7 separate regions of the Homo sapiens genome follow, and regions 1, 2, 3, 4, 5 and 6 are each linked to region 7. The links are contacts of gene promoters, found by promoter capture Hi-C in human tissues and cell types (Jung and others, 2019). All regions are on one chromosome and are shown on one strand. The core of a region is centred on a gene start or on the middle of the fragment in contact, and the rest is flanking DNA. Distances in the headings are between cores, read along the strand shown.

Region 1 (2,902 bases), core at 64-2,563, 370 kb after region 7:
ATTGCTGGATTATGTGGTAATTATGTTTAATTTTTTGAGGAACCACTCTACGGTTTTCCACAGCAGCCACACCATTTTACATTCCCGTCAGCGATGCACAAAGGGTTCCAATTTCTCCGCATCTTTGCCAACACTTATTTTCTTTTTTTCCTCTTCTTCCTCCTTCTCCCCCCTTGAAACTTTTTGTTTTCTTCTCGTTTTTGTAGAGAACAGGGTCTCCTTATGTTGTCCAGTCAAGTCTGCCAACTCCTGGGCTCAGGCTATCCTCCTGTTTCTGCCTCCCTAAGTGCTGGGATTTTAGGCTGAAGCCACTGCGCCCAACTCCCTGCTTCTTCAACTGCCATCCTAATGAATGTTAAGTGGTATCCCACAGTGGTTTTGATTTGCGTTTCCCTAGTGATTAACTATGGGAAGCAGAAGTGAATGAGACAGAATTGTGATCTTGTCAGAAAAATCGTCTTGGAAAAGCCAACGTCCAACAGAAATGGTTAGAACAGGGGTCGCTGGCTTCCATCCAGACAGTATCCCTGACCCTTGTTGGGGCAATGTCACAGAGGCTCCTGCTGAGCAGGGAGGTCTGGATTCCACACTCTTCTGCCACTGCCCAGCTCTGGACCTAAGCTTTCTATGGGTGTCAAGAGGACAAGCAGCCGTGCCCATTTGTCTCGCTGCTTGTTTTTTTGGGTGTCAGATGCGCCAGCAGGAGGGACAGTGTGCGGGAAGGTGCTGGTCTGAGGCTGGTCCTGCCAAAGCCCCGCAGGCTCACTCCCTGGTCGTGCGGAGGTGGCTGGTGCTCGCTGGTCTCCTCAGCACCCGCAGGCCGGGCCCGGGGGCCAGGCAGTTGTCCTCTGTGGAGCCTTATCGGGGCCCACAGGCCCTGCTGCCTTGACCCCACCCGGGCCCCAAAACTCGGCCTGGGGACTGCACAAGGCGGGGCTACGCGGGGCAGGGCCCGTCTGCTGGGGGAGTGCGCTGGGCGGCGGCGGGAGGGCAGGGTCCCTGGGCTCCGACAGCCCCTCCGGCGGAGGTCAATCACAATGAAACCGTGTCCAGCGGACCCGGCAGGGGCTCGCCGCAGTCTACCTGGCCACCGTGAAGCCATGACCTGGCGCCCGAAGCTGCCGGCCGGGGTGTACTCCGCGCGGGACCCTGGGCCTCCGCAGGCCCCGGCGGGGTCGCCCCGAGGCGGGCCTGGCGAGTCCAATCGCCCTGCCCGCAGGGGACCCGCCCCTCATGGGTCCCGCCAATCGCAGGGTACGTTGCTCGGCAGTGCTGCGCGGCTTGGCCTATGGGACGGCGCGTTGTTGGGCTGCAGCGCCGCAGGCCGCACCCAGGTCGGGCGGTGGGGGCGAGCGGAGGGGCTGAGGGGCGGAGAGGCCTGGCGGGCCGCTGCTGCGGGCCAGGGGACGGGGGCGGAGCCGGAGCCGGAGCCGACGGGCGGTGGCCGCACTGGGACCCCGGAATCCCGCGCGCTGCCCACGATTCGCTTCTGAGGTGAGGCTAGCTAGCGGGGGCGGCGGGGGCCCGGTTCGGGCTGAGGCGGCGGCGGGGGCGCGGGGAACTGGGCCGCGGTTGCGGCGGGCGGGGGCCGCGGGGCCTGCGGCGGCCCGGGCAGCCTCGGGGGCGGGGAGGCCGCTGCGGCGCCGAGGGCGTCTTGGAGGGGTCCCCGCGGGGCCTTCGGCCTGGGCCGAGCCGGGGAGCGAGGGCGCCGCAGATCTTTCATCGGGATAGGACCCCGGGGACTAGGCTTTTCCCGGGCCGCTCGTTCCTGGCCGGCTTGTGGGCTGCAGGGGTGGGGGCGGAGGAGGACGACCCTGGCTGGACGCTGGTCAGCATCCTGCTTGTGAGACCGGTTCCGCGGTCCGCAGCGCTGGTGGCTGCAAGGTTTGTGTACGGACGCATCTGTCGGCTCTCGTATTTAAAAACGACGGCTTCTGCCAAAAGAGAAAAGCCATATCTGCCGACGGACGCTCGAGAGATAATCGTGGAACTTTATCAGCGATGGGGCTGTTGGTCACCTTTGCCCTCCCTCTCTTTTCTTTTTTCTTAATCTTTTATTTTCGTTTTTTGGGAGATGTCAGAGGGCCTTTCCCTGTTAGGATGACTTTTATCTTTGCTCTTGTAATGGCTCAAGATAGTTGGGAGGTAATTTGCATTCACTTTATGCATACCCACCTTGAAAAACGTATTTTGGTTCGCCTGAAACTGTTGTTGGTTTGAGCATAATTTATGTTTAGAAAGACAAAAAGCAATTGTCATATCTCCAAAGACCAAAGACATAGCTGATAGCTGTATGCATTACTGGTAAGTTAAAGAAAGATTTTTTGTGTGAAAAATTGACTGAGATCTTAATGGGGATAGGAAATAGAATGCTGATAGGTCGACTGTGTCTATGAGTAGAGGCGCCTAGTGAAAACAAGCTTGGAGTGGATGAGTAGGAGTTCAACAGGCACCAGAGAGAGGAGGGCATTTCAGGCAGAGGGTGTGAATTGTATGAAAGTGAGTTTGTAAACTTTGGAGCCTTGAATGGACAAAGGCCCGCGATGATACCTTTTTTTTTTGAGACGGAGTCTCGCTCTGTCGCCAGGCTGGAGTACAGTGGCGCGATCTCCAGTCACTGCAATCTCCGCCTCCCAGGTTCAAGCAATTCTCCTACCTCAGCCTCCCGAGTAGCTGGGACTACAGGCGCGCGCCACCACGCCCAGCTAATTTTTGTATTTTTAGTAGAGACGGGGTTTCACCATGTTGGCCAGGATGGTCTCAGTCTCTTGACCTCGTGATCCGTCCGCCTAGGCCTCCAAAAGTGCTGGGATTACAGGCGTGAGCCACCGCGCCTGGCCTACGTTAAAATTTTAATATACTCCTTTGATTTTGACAGTGGAGAAAACTAGAATAGTAAAGT
Region 2 (2,795 bases), core at 143-2,642, 390 kb after region 7:
CTGGCCTAGTGCTCTCACCACCTGTTTGTCTGTGAGTCCTTCCTTAGCTGTCCCCTTCTCTGGGAGCTTTCCTTTGCTCTTCCTACTTAATGATGTGACTCACCTCCCCACCCCCTGGACTCCCAGTTCCCTACCCATAGCACTTGTCGCCTTCTAACAGACTGTGTGATTTACTTATTTATCATGTTTATTGCCTGGCTTCCCTGCAGGAATGTAAGAAATCTTTGTTTTGTTCATTGATGTCCCCTGAGAATGTGGATTGCTGAGCAATGCCTGGTCTATAGCAGCCTCACAGTTAGTGCTTGGTAGATATTTGGTGACTGAGTGCTGACTCCATGAAAATGATTGTCATCCTTTGACTCTGCTCCAGTTGCATTTGAAAAGTTGCATGGGATCTGCCACTTCTCTCCATGACCCAACTATAGAGACTTCTGGAGTGTGGCTTCTCCCCTCTACCTCAGTACTGTCATGCCTATTGAATTTTTTTGAGACAGAGCTTCACTCTGTCACCCAGGCTAGAGTGCAGTGGGATGGTCATGGCCCACTACAGCCTCTACTAGGCTCAAGTGATCCTCTCACCTCAGACTCCTAAGTAGCTGGGACTACAGGTGCATGCCACCACGCCCAGCTAATTTTTAATTTTTTTTTTTTTTTTTTTTGGTAGAGCTAGGGTTCTGCCATATTGCCCAGGCTAGTCTCAAACTCTGGGCTGAAGCAATCTGCCCACCTCTGCCTCCCAAGGTGCTGGGATTACAGTTGTGAGCCACTGTACAAGGCTTTACTTGGAATTTTTAGACTTCAGAAATTATTTGAATGTTAATATAGGAAAGTGGTAGTAATAATTAGAAGCAAATTATATATATGAGAAACAGTATTTAATGTATTTTGGAGACCAAGTGTTATGACAGGGATCAGAAATTTTCAGTTGTCACTGACAGTAAAAATCATTGCAAGAAGCAATTTGGTGCTGTGGAAAGTTCATAGGCTTGGAAGCCAGGATACTTGGTTCTTAGGTTTGTCCAGTAATCTTAGCCACCCTACAGTGAGTGTCTGCTGTCTGCCAAACACTCTAAATGCTTTCCAGACAGCATTTTTGATTTTACTGTATCACTCATGGTTGCCATTACTACACCTTGTTTTTTTTTGTTTTGTTTTGTTGTTTTGTTTTCTAAGAGATAGGGTCTCACTGTGTTGCCCAGGCTGGTCTCAAACTCCTGGGCTGAAGAGATCCTCCTGCCTCAGCCTCCCAAGTAGCTGTGAGTACAGTCATGAGCCACTGTGCCTGGCTACTATACCCTGTTTATAGATGGAAAAACTGAGTCCCAGAGAAAAGATAAGAAAGAAAAGATTCTATTCTGATATGAACAGAATCATTTTGGAGTGGAGACCATGTGGGGCACATTTAACCCCTATACACTGTCAACTAGAGAGTTTGGTTAACTTACTGTCTCTACCTTAGGGTAAGACACAATCTCCGAGGACCTACATTTTATGACCTGTGAGATCAGGATAAGGCTATCCTGCTAAAACACTTAAATAACAGAATTTATGGCCGGGCGTGGTGGCTCACGCCTTTAATCCTAGCACTTTGGGAGGCCGAGGTGGGCAGATTTCCTGAGTTCAGGAGTTCGAGAACAGCCTGGGCGATACGGTGAAACCCCATCTCTACTAAAATACAAAAAATTAGCTGGGCGTGGTGGCGTGTGCCCGTAGTCCCAGCTGTTCGGGAGGCTGAGGCAGGAGAATTGCTTGAACCCGGGAGGCGGAGGTTGCAGTGAGCCAAGATCGTGCGTGCCATTGCTCCACCCTGGGTGACAGAGCGAGACTCCGCCTCAAAAAACAAAACAAAACAAAACAAAAAACAGGATTTATATTGTAAAATATAAAACTTTAAACAAATGTTTTGTATCATTATGCTGCTGAAAATACAATGTTCCAACAGTGTCCTCTGTTCATTTTATACTCACAGTGATGCTTATTATTTTATTTATTAGAATGTATCTGAGATGCCAAGTTCAGGAGATTTTTGGAGTCCTGCTCTGTGTGCCCTTCTGCCAGGTGGCCCTATGCTTATAATCACTCTTAGGTGTTTACACTTCCTTCCTTTTTCTTGTCAGGGTCCCTGGCTCCCTCTGGAGTCTACTCTCCAGGAGGTGGGGGGCGCTGATGTCAGCAGGGAAGGGGGGCTTATTGCTCTCAGTGATGCTTATTATTTTATTCACGTTCTTAATGGTTTGAGTTTTTGGTTTTTTAAGAGATGGGGTCTTGCTTTGTTGCCTGGCTGGATTTGAACTCCTGGACCCCATTGTGCCTCACTTGTTTTATTTTTCAAATTTTATTATTTTGTAAATTTCCCTTTTATAAATTAATCTTTAAAAATGTGTGTGTGTATATCTATGAACAAATAAAGGATCTCCTGGTCATCTCTGTCCCCATCCACCCAGCTCCCTGTTCCTCCTTACAAGTAAATCACCATTGTAAGTTGTATATTCTTCCTGCATTTCTTTATGCAAATAGAAGGAAATGTGAATGTTTTTCTTATTCTCTTCCTTCTCCCCACAAAAGATGCCATACATACACTATTTTCTCTTGTTTTTTTTTTCCTGCCTGACAGTATTTCCTTGTTTTTGTGAAGACTAGACCATCTAAAATTTTGTGTACTCATAATTACTTGATAGCATAAAGACTTTCAAGTCTCCATCAGCTGACACAATTAATTTTCAATGAACATACCTTTGGCAAGTCTTCTTAGGCTTATTTTTGTGATTTTTAAATGCTTCCTGCCTAGCTCTAAA
Region 3 (2,904 bases), core at 29-2,528, 410 kb before region 7:
CTGAGTCTGTCCTTCCACGCTGCAGTCCTCAAACTTGGCCCCAACAAACTATTTCTATTCGTTTTGCCTGTTTTCTCCTTTAGGTTGAAAAGCTGACAGCGGGCCCCAGACACTGAGGGGGCGCCTTCCCAGCTTGGCTTCCCCTCCCCCCCACGCCCCCACCCCGTCCCCTGCCCCTCTCCAGGGCCCGTTCTCTGGCGGACGGGGCTGTGGACCAGTTCAGCCGCCCCTCCCCACCCCACCAGGGCGCTGCGGCCTCACTCCCACGTCCACGGGCAGGCCCAGCCCCTCCTGGCCTTCAGGTGACCTCAGCTGCCCGGCTGGCCCCAACTCCACCGCACAACGCAGACTGCGGGTCCCCAGGCCTGGACCCCTGGCCCCGTCCCGCCCGCGCATGTCGGGGAAGCTCTGCTCCGGCAGCCCTCGGGGTGGTGCTGGGAGGTCGCGCAGAACTGAAGGGGGCTAGGTTCGAGAAGCGCCGAGGATGGGGTCTGCGACCGCCTCCCCGCACCTGAGCTTCTCCGCCCCAGCCTGCGGCGTCTGCAGGTCCTACAAGGCGCAGAGCCCCCGCTGCACCTGCACCGAGGCCACGGGGCGCATGCGCGGCCGCGGGGGGCGGGGGCCGGGCCGGGAGGGGTCCTGCGGGCCCCGCATCCCCGTGCCCACTGCGGGGCTCGGACAGGGGGGCGCCGCGCCAGGCCGCAGACCCCGCCCTTCCGCGTCCCCACTCCGGCTGCCCGTGCGGCTCCGGACGAGGCTTCCCGGGGGCTCCGGGCCGGGGCAGCCGCGGCGCCCTCTCCCCAGGTCCACCGCGGGCGCTGCTTTCAAACAAAGGCAGGAGACGGAGCGGGAGACGCTGCCGTGACTGCTCCGGGCGGCCGCGGAGGAGGAGGAGGAGGACGTGGCGCCGCGATCGCCAGCGGTCGGGCCCGGGGTCGGGGCGCTCCCAGGCGCGCGGCGTGGGAGCGGGGGGCGGGGCGGGCGGCGCCCATCACGCGCTCCGCGGCCGGGTCCCGAGCCCCGCCGGACGCCCCCGGGCCAGGAGCCCCCGCCCGCGCCGCCGCCCCCGCCCGTGCCGGGCCCCTCGCGCTGCCCGGCCGCCCCGTCGCGCCCAGCGAGCCACCCGGCGAGGCGGGGGCGGCGTCTCCCCCACCCCCGCGATCACATGGTGACCCCCGGCAGCCAATGCAGTGGACGCTAGGACCCTGCGGGCCGCGGGCGCCGCGACTGCACCGGCGCCGCCGCATTATAAATACTTCTCCAAAATGCGGCGCAGCTCCCTGCGCGCGCCCCGGCCGCCCGCCGCCTCCGCCCCGCGCCCCTGAGCTGCCGCCGCCGCCGCCGCCGCTGCCGCCGCCGCCGCCGCCGCCGCGGGTCCGAGGGCGCCGCGCCCTTGCCCTGGGCCCGGCCGTGCCCGCCGCCGCCCGGCCGCGTCCCCGCTGCCGCGCCGCCCGGCCGGGTGCATGCATTGTGGGCCTCCCGACATGGTCTGCGAGACGAAGATCGTGGCCGCCGAGGACCATGAGGCGCTGCCGGGGGCCAAGAAGGACGCGCTGCTCGCCGCCGCCGGCGCCATGTGGCCCCCGCTGCCCGCCGCGCCCGGGCCGGCCGCCGCGCCCCCCGCGCCCCCACCTGCCCCGGTGGCTCAGCCTCACGGCGGGGCGGGGGGCGCGGGGCCGCCGGGGGGGCGCGGCGTGTGCATCCGCGAGTTCCGTGCGGCCGAGCAGGAGGCGGCGCGCCGCATCTTCTACGACGGCATCATGGAGCGCATCCCTAACACGGCCTTCCGCGGCCTGCGGCAGCACCCGCGCGCGCAGCTGCTCTACGCCCTGCTGGCGGGTCAGTGCGCCGGGCCCCCGGCTGCCGCAGTCCCTCGGGCCGGCGCGGAGCTCCCCCGCCCCGGCGTCCACGCGGACCCCGCGCCCGGCTCCCGGGGACCAGCCTGGGAAGCCCCCCGCTTTCTGCCGCGCCGGGCCCCGCGCAGGGCTGGCTATGGGCGTGGGGATGGGCGCAGGGCCCCGAGCGGGCCGGAGCCGGGGAGGGTCCGGGGTCCGCACCTGCGTCCCCGCCGCGCAGCCCCCCACCCCCACCGCCTCCCCTGTCCCCTCCCGGGCATCCTGGGTGGGGGCGGGTGCCAGGGCAGGTAGCGCCCGCCGCGGCTGGGCCCCGGCGAGTGCCTAAATATAATCTGCGGGCGGGGGAGGCCGCCTCCCGCTCGGTGCTAATTTATGAGGGGAAGACAGCCGGCGCCGCGGGGGGTGCGCGCGCCTGGCACAGCCGGGGCGGTCGCAGAGGGCGGCCCCTTCAGCGTCTTTGGGTGCCCTTCCCCTCAGAGCTTCCTGCCGGGGTGAGGGGGTTCGCTCCCATTTTACAGATGAGGCGCTTGAGGCCGCGTAGGGAGGACGCGACTCCCCCAAGGTCACGGCAGCCGAAATGCGGCTGGAAGCGGTGTGGGGCCTCCCTGCCCTGTCCCTGCCCTCAGAGCTCCCGGACGCTGGCCAGGAAGGGCTCTTGCTGGGGCCCTGGGAAGAGGGGGTCCTGGAGCCCGAGGCTGGAACGTGGGACACCCCCCTTCCTCCTCCCCCCTCCCCCCTCCCCCGCGCGGGGCCTGGTCTGCGGGGCAGCTCCCTGCCAGGATCTGCCCACCTTGGCTTCAGTAGGCCAGCGTGGGCAGAGTCCTTCCCGGCCCGGCCATCCCGAGGGTGTCCTGCCGTGTTTGGAAGCTCAGAGACCCGCCGAGGCTCATTCCAGGCGGTGGGGGTGGGTGGGGTGGCTGTCTTCACCGCAGGAAGCTTGGAAATAGGGAGAAGTAGAAAGCACCCGAGATGACCCCGGCTCCTCCACCAGGAGCGCGGCCGGGCGCGGCGTCCCTAGCGGGCTTCGCCGGGGTGGCGTCTCTGGGGC
Region 4 (2,877 bases), core at 318-2,817, 320 kb after region 7:
CCTGTTGTCTGAAGACTCTCCCATATCCTCCCCTGCCTCTGCCATCCCCTGCTTTGTCCCTTCCCTTCCAGAGGCCCTGCCTTGGTCCTGGTCACTTCCTGGTAGGCACTGGCTCTTCCTCTATGCCTGGGCTCAGGGCCTGGCCACCTAGTTTTCTGACTCCTCCCACTTACTCCCCTCCCCAGTTAACCTCTCTGATCCCAAGTGTGTCTCTCCAGCAGGGAGGAGGGCTATTGCAGCCAGGGATCCCCTTTCTGAGGCTTGGGACCCATTATTGGGCAGCTCTGGGACAGGTGGACGGTGACTTGGCCCACACTCGGTCCAGCTGCAACCCTGAGAACCCGCTTGGTTTGGCTGTGTCTCCTGGAGGCCCTCAGGTATTTCAACCTGTAGGACCCAAACCCAGTCCTTCACCTGCTGCAGGGCCAGCCCTGGACACCCCTGCCCCTGCCTGATTTGGAGCAGCCAATTCAGCCCCTGTCATTGGACTCTGGCCTCTTGTGCTCAGTACAGAGGGTCAGACCTTGGCCGCCTGCCTGGACAGGGCCAGGTCACCACCACCCACCCCCAGCTCCCTTGGGTTCCCAGCAAGATCCTGTCCTTCCTCTACTCACAGCTTCCTGGGCTCTGGGACCTGGGGTCCAGTCCCCACTCCTCATGGGGAGGAGTCCCCCCACGCCCCAAGCAGTTGACTCCCGCACTGGTGGGGGGTCCGCTCGCCCTCAAGCTCTGCAGGCCCAGCTTGGTCTCCCCAGCCTCTTCACTTTCTCCACGGCTCCCTCCACCTACCTGGCCCTGAGAGCTCCCCAGGGAAGCCATTTCCTCCCAGGAAGCCCCTCCTCTTCTCGCCCCTGCCCTTACACCAAGGCATCTGGGCCTACTCTTAGGGAGAGGGTGATGGTGGAGGAAAGGGAGCCTCAGAGGAGGCCAAGTGTAAAGCACCCGGTCTCCTGTGCCTCCCAGCCCCAAGACGACCTCTGGGCCACCGGAGTCCAGACCTGGTCCAAGAGGCGAGGTCCCCCTGGGAAGTGCCTGAAAAGTACCCTGGAGGACATTTGGAAACAAAGACAAGGTTTCCTGGTGCCCAGCAAGCCCTCCCCCACCTCCCCTGCTCCTGTCTTGGCCAGGGCCTAAGTCGCACTCACGGGGCAGGGGTGGGGCCGCCCAGGATCAGGACCACGGGGCTGGGGGGGTGGACAGCGCCCTTTCCACCTGGGTCGCTGGGCACTGGGGTGTCACTGGGAGGGACACGCAGGAGGGACAGACACGCTACCTCACTCACGGGCGAGAACTAAGCACCTACTGTGGACCCGGCGTCTAGGCCCGCGACAACGCCAGTCTTCGCCCCCCAGGGGCCTCGTCCCGGGGCCGCGGAGGCCACGTGCAGTTCCCCGCCCACCCTGAGGTACCGGCCCCGCCCCACGCCCAGCTCGGACCTCCAGGATTGCGGGACCCGCCGGGGAGGGGCGGGGCCGGGGCGGGGCCAGGAGGAGGGCGGACTGGGCGGGCGCGGGCGGGACGGAGCTGCGGCGGCGGCGGGTCCCGCGGGCGGGAGCGCCTGGCGGCCGAGTCAAGCCGCCGCCTCGACCCAGGGCCCGCGGGCCAGGAGAGCGCTCGGCGGGTAAGCCTCGGCGGCGGGTCTCGGCGGGTCTCGGGGGTCTCGCGGGGGGGCGGTCTCCGCGTCTGGAAGGGGCTCGGCGGGCCTTGGCGGTCTGGGGGCTCTCGGCGGGTCTCGGGGGTCTCGGGGGAGTCTCGGGGTCCCGACAGGTCTCGGCGGGTCTCGGGGGTCTCGGGGGAGTCTCCGGGGAGTCTCAGGGGTCCCGGCAGGTCTTGGCAGGTCTCGGGGGAGTCTCAGGGTCCCGGCAGGTATGGGCGGGTGTCGGGGGTCTCGGGTGCGCAGCAGCCTCCCCCGGGCCCCGGGGCCTCCGTGTCCTTGCCAAAGGACGCACGGGGCCTGGGCACGGCGGGCAGTGCCCGAGGGAGCGCGGCTTCGGGGCGGGGGCCGGGTGTCCCTTGCCGGGGGCTCAGGGGTGGGAGGCGGTGCGACGCGTCTGTTTCGCACCCCTCGCGCCCCTCTGGCCCCGCGGCGGGGCCCCTTTACGCGACCCTCCCCACAAGACTCAAAGGCTGCGGCGGGCACTCGCTCTCCGCCCTTCCCGGAATCCAAACTTCCCTCTGCAGCGGCCGCGCTTCACGGAGGGCAAGAAAAGCCGCCCACTGGCGCTGATTCACACTGAAGTGTGAGTGACTGATAGCCGGGCGTCTGAGACTCTCATGGGCAACAGGGAATCTCAGGGGTGGCAGAGGGACTGGAGGAGTTAGGGGGCGGGGACAGCCCCTTCCACCTGTACGCTGGCCTCCCTGCAGCCCAGCACTTTCCCGCTGCTCTGGGCCTCGGCTCCCTGGGGGTATTGAGGGCCTGAGCCCTGCTGTGGGGAGCCTTCTGCTGGTGCTCCTTTCCGTGAGCACCTCCTATCCCCTCTCTGTGCCTCAGTTTGCTCATCTGTTGACACTGGGGACAGCTGTGCCTCCTGGTCTAGTGGCCACACTTAAGTCCTTCGAATTGGCTGTGGCCAGGGGCGGGTACTCCGTGTGGGCTGCTGGGGTGGACAGCCTGCCTGGATGACATGTGTGTGGCCTTGCAGGTGACATGGGCCGGTGATGCAATGTGTAGAATTGTTTCCACAACCGCCTGAAGGCAGGGCCCACAGCCTCCTCCTTGCCGAAGCAAGCCTCTGGGTTCAGGTCAGCCCTGCACCAACTCCATGAGCCTGGACAAGCTCCTGCCCTCACTGGCTCAGGCCCTGTGGGACCAGAGGAGGGGCTGGGCTCCACCCCCTCCTGGTTCTTCCCACTCTGTCCACTGTCTCCTCTACG
Region 5 (2,863 bases), core at 33-2,532, 440 kb before region 7:
ATATTGGCCCCCAATCTCTTCTGGCTTGTAGGGTTTCCACTGAGATGTCCACTGTTAGTCTGATGGGCTTCCCTTTGTAGGTGACCTGGCCTTTCTCTCTGGCTGCCCTTAACATTTTTTACTTCATTTTAACCTTAGAGAATCTGATGATTATGTGCCTTAGGGTTGACCTTCTCATGGAGTATCTTATTGGAGTTCTCTGGATTTCCTGGATTTGAACGTTGGCCTGTCCTGCTAAGTTGGGGAAGTTCTCCTGGAGGATAACCTGAAGTGTGTTTTCCAACTTGGCTCCATTCTCCCCGTCTCTTTCAGGTACTCCAATCAGTTGTAGGTTCAATCTTTTTACATAGTCCAATAGTTCTCGGAGGTTTTGTTCATTCCTTTTCATTATTTTTTCTCTAATCTTGTCTGCCTGCCTTATTTCAGCAAGACAGTCTTCAAGCTCTGATATTCTTTCTTCTGTTTGGTTGATTTGGCTGTTGATACTTGTGTTTGCATCATGAAGTTCTTGTGCTGTATTTTTCAGCTCCGTCGGGTCATTTATGTTTCTCTCTAAACTGGTTATTCCAGTTAACACCATCTGTAATGTTTTATCGTGGTTCTTAGCTTCTTTGCATTGGGTTAAAACATAATCCTTTAGCTCAGTGAAGTATATTATTACCCACTTTCTGAAGCGTACTTCTGTCAGTTCATCCATCTCAGCTTCAGCCCACTCCTGTGCCCTTGCCGGAGAGGTGTTTTGATCATTTGAAGGAGAAGAGGCATTCTGGCTTTTGGAATTTTCAGCATTTTTGCGTTGGTTTTTCCTCATTGTGGATTTATCTACCTTTCCTCTTTGAGGCTGTTGACCTTTAGATGGGGTTTTTGTGGGGTCTTTTTTGTTGATGTTGTTGTTGTTGCTTTCTGTTTGTTTTTCTTTTATTTTCTTTTTTTTCGTTTTTTTTGAGATGGAGTCTCGCTCTGTCACCCAGGCTGGAGTGCAGTGGCGCGATCTTGGCTCCCTCACTGCAACATCCACCTTCCAGGTTCAAGCGATTCTCCTGCAGCCTCCCAAGTAGCTGGAACTACAGGCGCCCACCACCACGCCTGGCTAATTTTTGTATTTTTAGTAGAGACAGGGTTTCACCATATTGGCCAGGCTGGTCTCGAACTCCTGACCTTGTGATCCACCCTCCTCAGCCTCCCAAAGTGCTGGGATTACAGGCGTGAGCCACTGCGCCTGGCTGTTTTTCTTTTAACAGTCAGGCCCCTCTTCTGCAGGTCGGCTGCAATTTGCTGGAGGTCCACTCCATACCCTGTTTGCCTGGGTATCACCAGTGAAGGCTGCAGAACAGCAAAGATTGCTGCCTGCTCCTTCCTCTGGAAGCTTTGTCTCAGAGGGGCACCGACCTGATGCCAGCTGCAGCTCTCCTGAATGAAGTGTCTGGTGGCCCCTGTTGGGAGGTCTCACCCAGTCAGGAGGCATGTGATCAGGGACCTGCTTAAGGAAGCAGTCTGGCTGCCCCTTACCAGTGTGGGTGCACTGCGCTGGGGGGAATGCCCCCTCATCCAGGTCACTGGGACTCTTGGGAGCCAGCAAGCAGGAAAGATTAAGTCTGTCCAACCTGAGACTGCGGCCACCACTCTCCCCAGGTGCTCTGACCTGGGGAGATGAAAGTTCTGTCCGTAAACCCCTGGCTGGAGTTGCTGGAACTCCTGCAGGGAGGCACTGCTCGGGTGAGAAGGGATGGGTCTGGTTCCCAGTTAAAGAGGCAGTCTGGCCACAATCTGCCACAGCTGCTGTGCTGCGCTGTGGGGAATTCTGCCCAGTCCAAACCTCACAATCTCCCTAGCACTGGCCAGGGAAAACTGCCTCCCAGGTTCAAATGACTCTCCTCCCTCAGCCTCTCGAGTATCCAGGATTACAGGCATGCATCACCACACCTGGCTAATTTTTTTTTCTATTTTTAGTAGAGATAGGGTTTTACTGTGTTAGCTAGGCTGGTCTCGAACTCCTGAACTCATGATCCACCCACCTCAGCCTCCCAAAGTGCTGGGATTACAAGTGTGAGCCACCACGCCTGGCCTTGTAAGCCCATCTGTTCTGCCCATTTACTTTCCTCAGGAGTACAGTAGGGTGCTGCTGGCATGGGTGCAGTACCTGGCATTAGTCCGTGGCCTGGAGCACTGGTGTTCTTCACCTGTGGCCTTGGCTGTCCTGTCCATCAGGGCATTTCCTCCGGGATGATAGAGGTGTCCCCCTTTTGGTGTCCCCTGCAGTGAGTAACTGCCACCTCCTTTGGGAGCTGGACAGCATCTACAATTCCAAGATCTCAGAGCAATGCTGTGTGGGGGATTCCTTAGCTGTTAGCGCTCCCTTTTCTTTCCATATGGCGTCATGAGCGTGGAGCACCAGGCACCCATATTTGGAATCGGTAAATATGTTGACTCTTAAGTCTTTTCTCAGTTGGAGGACCCTGATTAGACCAATTAATTCCACTTTTTGAGCAGATGTCTGGGGAGGTCAAGCTTTGGCCTCAATGCCTTCTTCTCGGCTAACTACTGCATAACCGATCTTTCTTTCTCCCTTATGAATAAAACCACTTTCATCTCTGAGCCACTCAACATCGGGGTTATGCAGGGGCTCAAGGGCTCATCTTTGAGGTCAGGCCTGCTAGAGGAGGTCTGTTCTATGGTTTCCACACAGGAGTGAATGAGTTGGGGATCTGTTTCCTGGGACACGAAGTCCAGCAACAAGGGAGAAGAGTTTAAAACTCGACATACTTTAAGGGTAACATCTGGGGTGTCATGCAGAAGGGTCTGATATTTCAGTAACAAGCCCCTCGTTAGCTATTGGTGTCCCTTTGCCTCTAGGACTCTCTAT
Region 6 (2,700 bases), core at 66-2,565, 350 kb before region 7:
AGTAAATGATGAGCCCACAAAACCGTGCTCAACATCCATCCCCATCAAGGAAATGCAAGTCAAAGCTCAATGAGATACCACTTCACACTCACCAGGATGGCTAGAATCAAAAAGACAGGTAATACAAAGTATTGGTGAGAATGCAGAGAAACTTGAACCCCACACACCTGTGGGAATGTAAAATGGTGCAGCATTTTTGGAAAATTGTTTAGCAGGTCATGGAAAAGTTAAATATGGGTACCACTGAACTGCACATTTTAAATGATTAAGATGGTAAATTTTATGGGATGGGTATTTTACCACAATGAAAAAAAGTTAAACATAGAATTATTTTATGACCCAGCATGTCTACTCCTAGGTATACACTCAGGAGAAATTTAAATGTATGTCTGCACAAAAACTTGCACACAGACCAGGGGCGGTAGCTCACACCTGTAATCCCAGCACTTTGGGAGGCCAAGGAGGGAGGATTGCTTGAGCCCAGGAGTTTGAGGCCAGCCTAGGCAACATAGGAAGACAGAGCCTCTACCAAAAAGAAAAAAAAAAATCTAGCCAGGCATGCTGGCATGTGCCTGTGGTCTCAGGTACTCAGGAGGCTGAGGCAGGAGGATTGCTTGAGTCCAGCAAGCGGTTGAGGCTGCAGTGAGCTGTGAGTGGGAGTGAGCCACTGCATTCCCACTAAGGGTAACAGATCAAGATCTTATCTCAGAAACCAAACCAAACCAAACCAAACCAAACCAAACCTCAGCTGGGCGTGGTGGTTCACACCTGTAATCTCAGCACTTTGGGAGGCTGAGGCAGGTAGGTTGCTTTGTAATCAGGAATTTGAGACCAGCCTGGCCAACATGGCGAAACCTCATCTCTACTAAGAATACAAAAATTAGGCTGGGTGCAGTGGCTCACACCTGTAATCCCAGCACTTTGGGAGGCCGAGGCAGGTGGATCATTTGAGGTCAGGAGTTCAAGACCAGCCTGGCCAACATAGTGGAACCCTCTCACTACTAAAATTACAAAAATTAGCTGGGTGGTAGTGGCGCATACCTGTAATCCCAGCTACTCGGGAGGCTGAGGCAGGAATCGCTTGATCCTGGGAGACGGAGGTTGAAGTGAGCCAAGATTGCACCACTGCTCTCCAGTCTGGGCGACAGGGTGAGACCCTGTCTCAAAAAAAAAAAAAAAAAAAAAGAAAAAAAAATTCAGCCAGGCATGGTGGCATGTACCTGTGGTCCCAGCTACTTGGGAGGTAAGGCTGGAGAATCACTCAAACCTGGGAGGCAGAGGTTGCAGTGAGCCAAGATCGTGCCTCTGCTCTCCAGCCTAGGGGACAGAGTGTAACCTTGTCTCAAAAAAAAACCAAAACCGAAGCCAAAACCAAAACCAAACCTGTATACAAATGTGCATAATGCATTGTTCATAATTGACAAAAAGTGGAAACAACCCAAATGTCCATCAAAGGACATTTGATGAATAGATAAATACACGGATTATTTGCTTATTTATATTGAAATATATAGAATATATTATTCCATATAATAGAGTATTTTTCAGCCTTAAAAAGGAATGAAGTACTGTTAGCTCCTACAGCATGGATAAACCTTGAAAATACTATGTTCAGCAAAAGAAGCCAGATACAAAAGGTTCCATGTTGTACAATTTCATTAATGTGAAGTGTCCAGAATAGGTAAATCTAGAGACAGAAAGTAGATGAGTGGTTTCCAGGGCCGGGAGGCGGGGTGAATTGGGAGTGGTGGTTAATGGGCATGAGTTTTCTTTTTGGGGTGATCGAAATGTTCTGGAATTAGATAGTCGTGATTGTAACTTTATTTTTTGAGAGACAGGTTCTTGCTCTGTCGAGGCGGAGTGCAGTGGTGTAATCATAGCTCACTGCAGCCTCAACCTGGGCTCAAGCAATCCTCTCTCCTTAGCCTCCCAAGCAGCCAGGACTACAGGATAGGCGTGTGCCACCTCATCCGGCTAATTTAAAAAAAAATTTTTTTTGTAGAGATGGGAGTCTTGCCATGTTGCCCAGGCTGGTCTCAAACTCCTGGCCTCAAGTGATCCTCTCCTCTTTGCCTCCCCAAATACTGGGATTATGGGCATGCGCCACTGTGCCAGGCCAATTGTAACATTAAAAAGGTGAATTTTATGGTCTGTGAATTATATCTTGATTTTAAAAGATGGTGAGAGCTTAGGAGAAGGATGTTTTCCCAGGAGCGGGGGCACAGAGACCAGGAGAAAGCACCGGGACAGGCAGGGCCCAGGGATGCTGCACACCCACAAAGACCCTGTGGAGGCTTTGACTTGTCCCTTGCTGGGGGTGGGGTCCTCGTTGCTGTTGCTGGCCCTGGACCTCGGAGCCAGGCACATCCTGGAGGCGATCATTGTCTTAGATGTGAGGAGCTCCAGGCTTCAAATACAAATAAACGCCTATGTAGGTAAAATGAAAGTTTGTTTTAAGAAGCAAGAAAGAGCTGGCAGTGAGAAAGTAAAGGGAGTAAGTATAGATTTCTTTTGTACCTAAGCAATAAATGAGGTCTTCAACCAGGTTGAAGATAGGATTTCTTTCTAGGGTTATATTTAGGGCAATCCTAAAGCAGGTTTTTTGTCCCCCAGTAGAGGGGAACGAGGAAATCAACAAAGGATATGTTAACAATGCTAGAGTAAAAATGGAAAATAAAAGGAACATGGATGAAGGCTGCC
Region 7 (2,744 bases), core at 30-2,529:
CGTTAATGCTCTGGTTTCTATCTGCCTTGTCATTCCGTTATTTGACTCCATTTTCGAGGTTAGAAACTCACTGTAAGGTGGCCGGGCGAGGTGGCTCACACCAGTAATCCCAGCACTTTTGGAGGCCAAGGAGGGTGGATCACCTGAGGTCAGGAGCTCGAGACCAGCCTGGCCAACATGATGGAACTCCATCTCTACTAAAAATACAAAGAAAATTAGCCGGGCGTGGTGGCAGGCGCCTGTAATCCCAGCTATTCGGGAGGCTGAGGCAGGAGAATCACGTGAACCCAGGAGGTTAGAGCTTGCAGTGAGCCGAGATCGCGCCACTAAAACAAACAAACTCACTGTAAGGAAACAATGTAACCCAAGGCATTTGGGGTGACCTTCACGTTGCCTGAGGGTGCCGAGGGACCAGAGATGCTGGCCATGGACTAAGGTCTGGGTATTCTCAGGCAGCAGGGACAAGGTGGGCTTTTTTCCTGGTTGCTAAACCCACGTCAAAGTCGAGCTCAGGGACTGGAGCTCAAGAAACCCACCGCCCATTCTCCAGTCCGACCGGGGACCTGCATGCACCTCTGCCGTGCTGCCCTGAGTCCTCCAATCCTCCACACTCTTCCTCTGTTATGTACACGTCTCCACCCAGGCCTGCAAAAGTCCCAGCTTCCTCGCAGGGGCAGGGACCCGCACGCCGGCCCAGGGCTTGGCACGCGGGGATGCTGAAACAGGGCCAGGCCTGGTTTCCAGCCGATCGTCAGAGTCCCAAGGCCCAGCAACCTTCCTCACAAAGGCCTCGTTAAGAGGCGAGGAAACAAGAGCCGGGAGAGGGGCGCGGAACGGCGGGCGGGACGAACGACCAGCTCCGCGCCTCCGGCCAGCTGCGTCGAGCCAGGGGCACCGCGGCTGTTGTGCGGCTGGAAATCTAGGAATGGGAAGGTTCGGGGCCTGCTCGGCTCCGGAGGCAGCTGGCGGGTCGTCCCTGGCGGCGTTGGAGCGGTCAGTGGCAGCCGGGCACGGGCGACCGGGTCGCCCGGGTCGCCCTCAGACCGTGACTCCCGAAAAACCTTGCGGGCGGGGCGCGCCCGCGCCGTCTCTTGCCGGAAGGTGCGAGTTAGTGCGCTCGATTGTGGGCGGGGGCGGAAAGAGGCGCGTTTTAAAGTGGTAACAGATGGTTTTCTTATCCAATAGGATTAAAAAATTTGTCCTTACCCGGCCGACCGCGGAAGTAGAGTAGGCGGGCGGCCAATGGGGACATGATGGGGGGCGGAGCCGAGGCCTCCGAAGCGGAAGTGGGTTGCTGTTGAGGCGGCGGCATCTTTCTCGAGGAGCTCTCCTGGGCGGCTGAAGAAGGAGCTTCTTCTCCGGAGTGCGCCGGCGGTGGCGCCTGCGGACCTAACTAGCTCCAGGTTAGGCCGAGCTTTGCGGGAAAGCAGCGGTAAGTCAGGGCCTTGCAGATGCGAGGTTTAGGCAGCTTCGCGGCCTACAGAGGCCTCGGCCCGCGCCTCTTGGGGGAGCCGCGCTGCGCGGCTTGACCCAGCCGAGGCTTTGCAGCCCGGGACCTCGAGCCAGCTCTGGTCGCTCGCACTGCCGTCCGCGCGGGCGCACCGAGCCCGGCTTGGCGCGGGCAACAGAAGTTAGGAGGTCTGCGTCTGGGTCTCGGCTCACCCTGGGGGGCCGCGGCCATGGGGCTTAGTTCCTAGCCTAGGAAGGGAAACTGAGACTCTGGGAGGGGCAGGAACGCCCCCAAGGTCACTTGGAAAGTCGGGCAGGATGTGCTGTTAGGGGGAAGACCCGGGCAGGGTTTTTGTTCCCCGCTGACGACGCCTCCTTTGTGTGTTCGCGCCGCCGCCCCGCCATCGTGGGGCCTGCGAGTTTGCCGGGGTGCGTGGGCCGCGTGGCGGGGCCTTTTGTAGGTCGGGAGGATCTGAGTACGGGTGCGGGCCTGACCGTGGGGGCGCCGAGGTCGCAGTCTAAAACTTAGTAGGGCCTCGATTTCCGGGCGCGCTTCCGGGCCCCGGCTGGTGGTTGGTGGAACGTGCGACTGTGAGGCTTGCGGCCCAGCCCTGCACCGCTCGGGCCCTTCACCGCTCTGGCGCGCCTATAGACAGGTGTATGAAGATTCTCACGACCCGAAACAGAGTTGCTAGTAAACACCGCTTTTCCGCCTTTGATCCATCGAGGGAAGAGGGAAAAGGATAGAGCTTGGGCAAGCCGTTTTGGTAGGGATTTCAGCTTTTGTCTTTCACTTGTCAGTTCCCATAGACGTTCACAAACTTAATAATCTTCGTTCTGTTTCTGCACCAAGTTCTTGAGCCAGACGTAGGGTCTCAGCTCTGGAGCCTGGCTTAGACTGTCCAACTGACTGGGGAGACTGAGGTCCAGAAAAGTGAAGTGGTCTGCCCAAGGTCACATAGCCAGCTATTTGGCAGCAGATGAGGTTAAGTCCTACCTGCAAGATTTGGGTTTTGAATTCATTGACCAGGAGTTTTGGGACCACTGTCAATAAAAGAGACATTGAAGGGAATCTTTTGTTACTTTCTTGGTGATTTGCTTTTTAATGGACAAGGACATATTGGGTTCAGTTTTATCTGTGAGTTTGAGGTGAAATAGAGGCATTCGAGTAGCAAGATATATTGCTGGCTTTTGTATTGCCTGAATTTGAGCTTCCAAAAATCTTACTTTAACACATCGTTTATTGATCTTTTCTTGAATTACTACCTTTGTAAGGACCTTTTGTAAACATTGTT

The links. The method cuts DNA at HindIII sites, captures the fragments that hold promoters and counts their contacts. A contact is called where the count stands out against the background at its distance.
Region 1: the fragment with the promoter of ADD1 here is called in contact with the fragment with the promoter of RNF4 in region 7 in 1 of the 25 tissues and cell types used here (dorsolateral prefrontal cortex).
Region 2: a contact is called between a fragment that was not itself captured here and the fragment with the promoter of RNF4 in region 7, in 1 of the 25 tissues and cell types used here (dorsolateral prefrontal cortex).
Region 3: a contact is called between the fragment with the promoter of NAT8L here and the fragment with the promoter of RNF4 in region 7, in 1 of the 25 tissues and cell types used here (mesendoderm cells).
Region 4: the fragment with the promoter of SH3BP2 here is called in contact with the fragment with the promoter of RNF4 in region 7 in 1 of the 25 tissues and cell types used here (lymphoblastoid cells).
Region 5: a contact is called between a fragment that was not itself captured here and the fragment with the promoter of RNF4 in region 7, in 4 of the 25 tissues and cell types used here (IMR-90 fibroblasts, aorta, dorsolateral prefrontal cortex and 1 more).
Region 6: a fragment that was not itself captured here is called in contact with the fragment with the promoter of RNF4 in region 7 in 1 of the 25 tissues and cell types used here (dorsolateral prefrontal cortex).

What each region holds. Positions count from the first base shown.
Region 1 is chr4:2,842,531-2,845,432 of GRCh38, forward strand. ADD1 (adducin 1) reads left to right here and starts at 1,314. Exons shown (of 16, transcript NM_001354761.2): 1 at 1,314-1,494. RefSeq lists an enhancer at 86-597 and silencers at 726-775, 876-1,255, 1,316-1,505, 1,626-1,775. The HindIII fragment of the contact is 4,953 bases long and covers 1-2,902 here.
Region 2 is chr4:2,862,581-2,865,375 of GRCh38, forward strand. The region is part of intron 1 of ADD1 (adducin 1); the gene reads left to right. Among named protein-coding and RNA genes, the nearest start is that of ADD1, 20 kb to the left of the region's middle. RefSeq lists enhancers at 1-282, 283-994. The HindIII fragment of the contact is 4,367 bases long and covers 1-2,795 here.
Region 3 is chr4:2,058,049-2,060,952 of GRCh38, forward strand. NAT8L (N-acetyltransferase 8 like) reads left to right here and starts at 1,279. Exons shown (of 3, transcript NM_178557.4): 1 at 1,279-1,839. The coding sequence starts at 1,464. The HindIII fragment of the contact is 12,290 bases long and covers 1-2,904 here.
Region 4 is chr4:2,791,518-2,794,394 of GRCh38, forward strand. It overlaps SH3BP2 (SH3 domain binding protein 2), which reads left to right and starts at 1,568. Exons shown (of 13, transcript NM_001122681.2): 1 at 1,568-1,621. RefSeq lists a silencer at 1,286-1,635. The HindIII fragment of the contact is 44,064 bases long and covers 1-2,877 here.
Region 5 is chr4:2,032,227-2,035,089 of GRCh38, forward strand. All of the region lies in intron 1 of LOC124900839, which reads right to left. Among named protein-coding and RNA genes, the nearest start is that of NICOL1, 8.3 kb to the right of the region's middle. The HindIII fragment of the contact is 6,531 bases long and covers 1-2,863 here.
Region 6 is chr4:2,122,461-2,125,160 of GRCh38, forward strand. All of the region lies in intron 19 of POLN (DNA polymerase nu), which reads right to left. Among named protein-coding and RNA genes, the nearest start is that of NAT8L, 64 kb to the left of the region's middle. The HindIII fragment of the contact is 8,083 bases long and covers 1-2,700 here.
Region 7 is chr4:2,467,827-2,470,570 of GRCh38, forward strand. RNF4 (ring finger protein 4) reads left to right here and starts at 1,280. Exons shown (of 8, transcript NM_002938.5): 1 at 1,280-1,432. LOC107986250 (a long non-coding RNA gene) reads right to left here and starts at 1,125. Exons shown (of 2, transcript XR_001741551.3): 1 at 574-1,125. RefSeq lists a silencer at 823-992 and enhancers at 1,143-1,502, 1,186-1,758, 1,803-1,922. The HindIII fragment of the contact is 20,287 bases long and covers 1-2,744 here.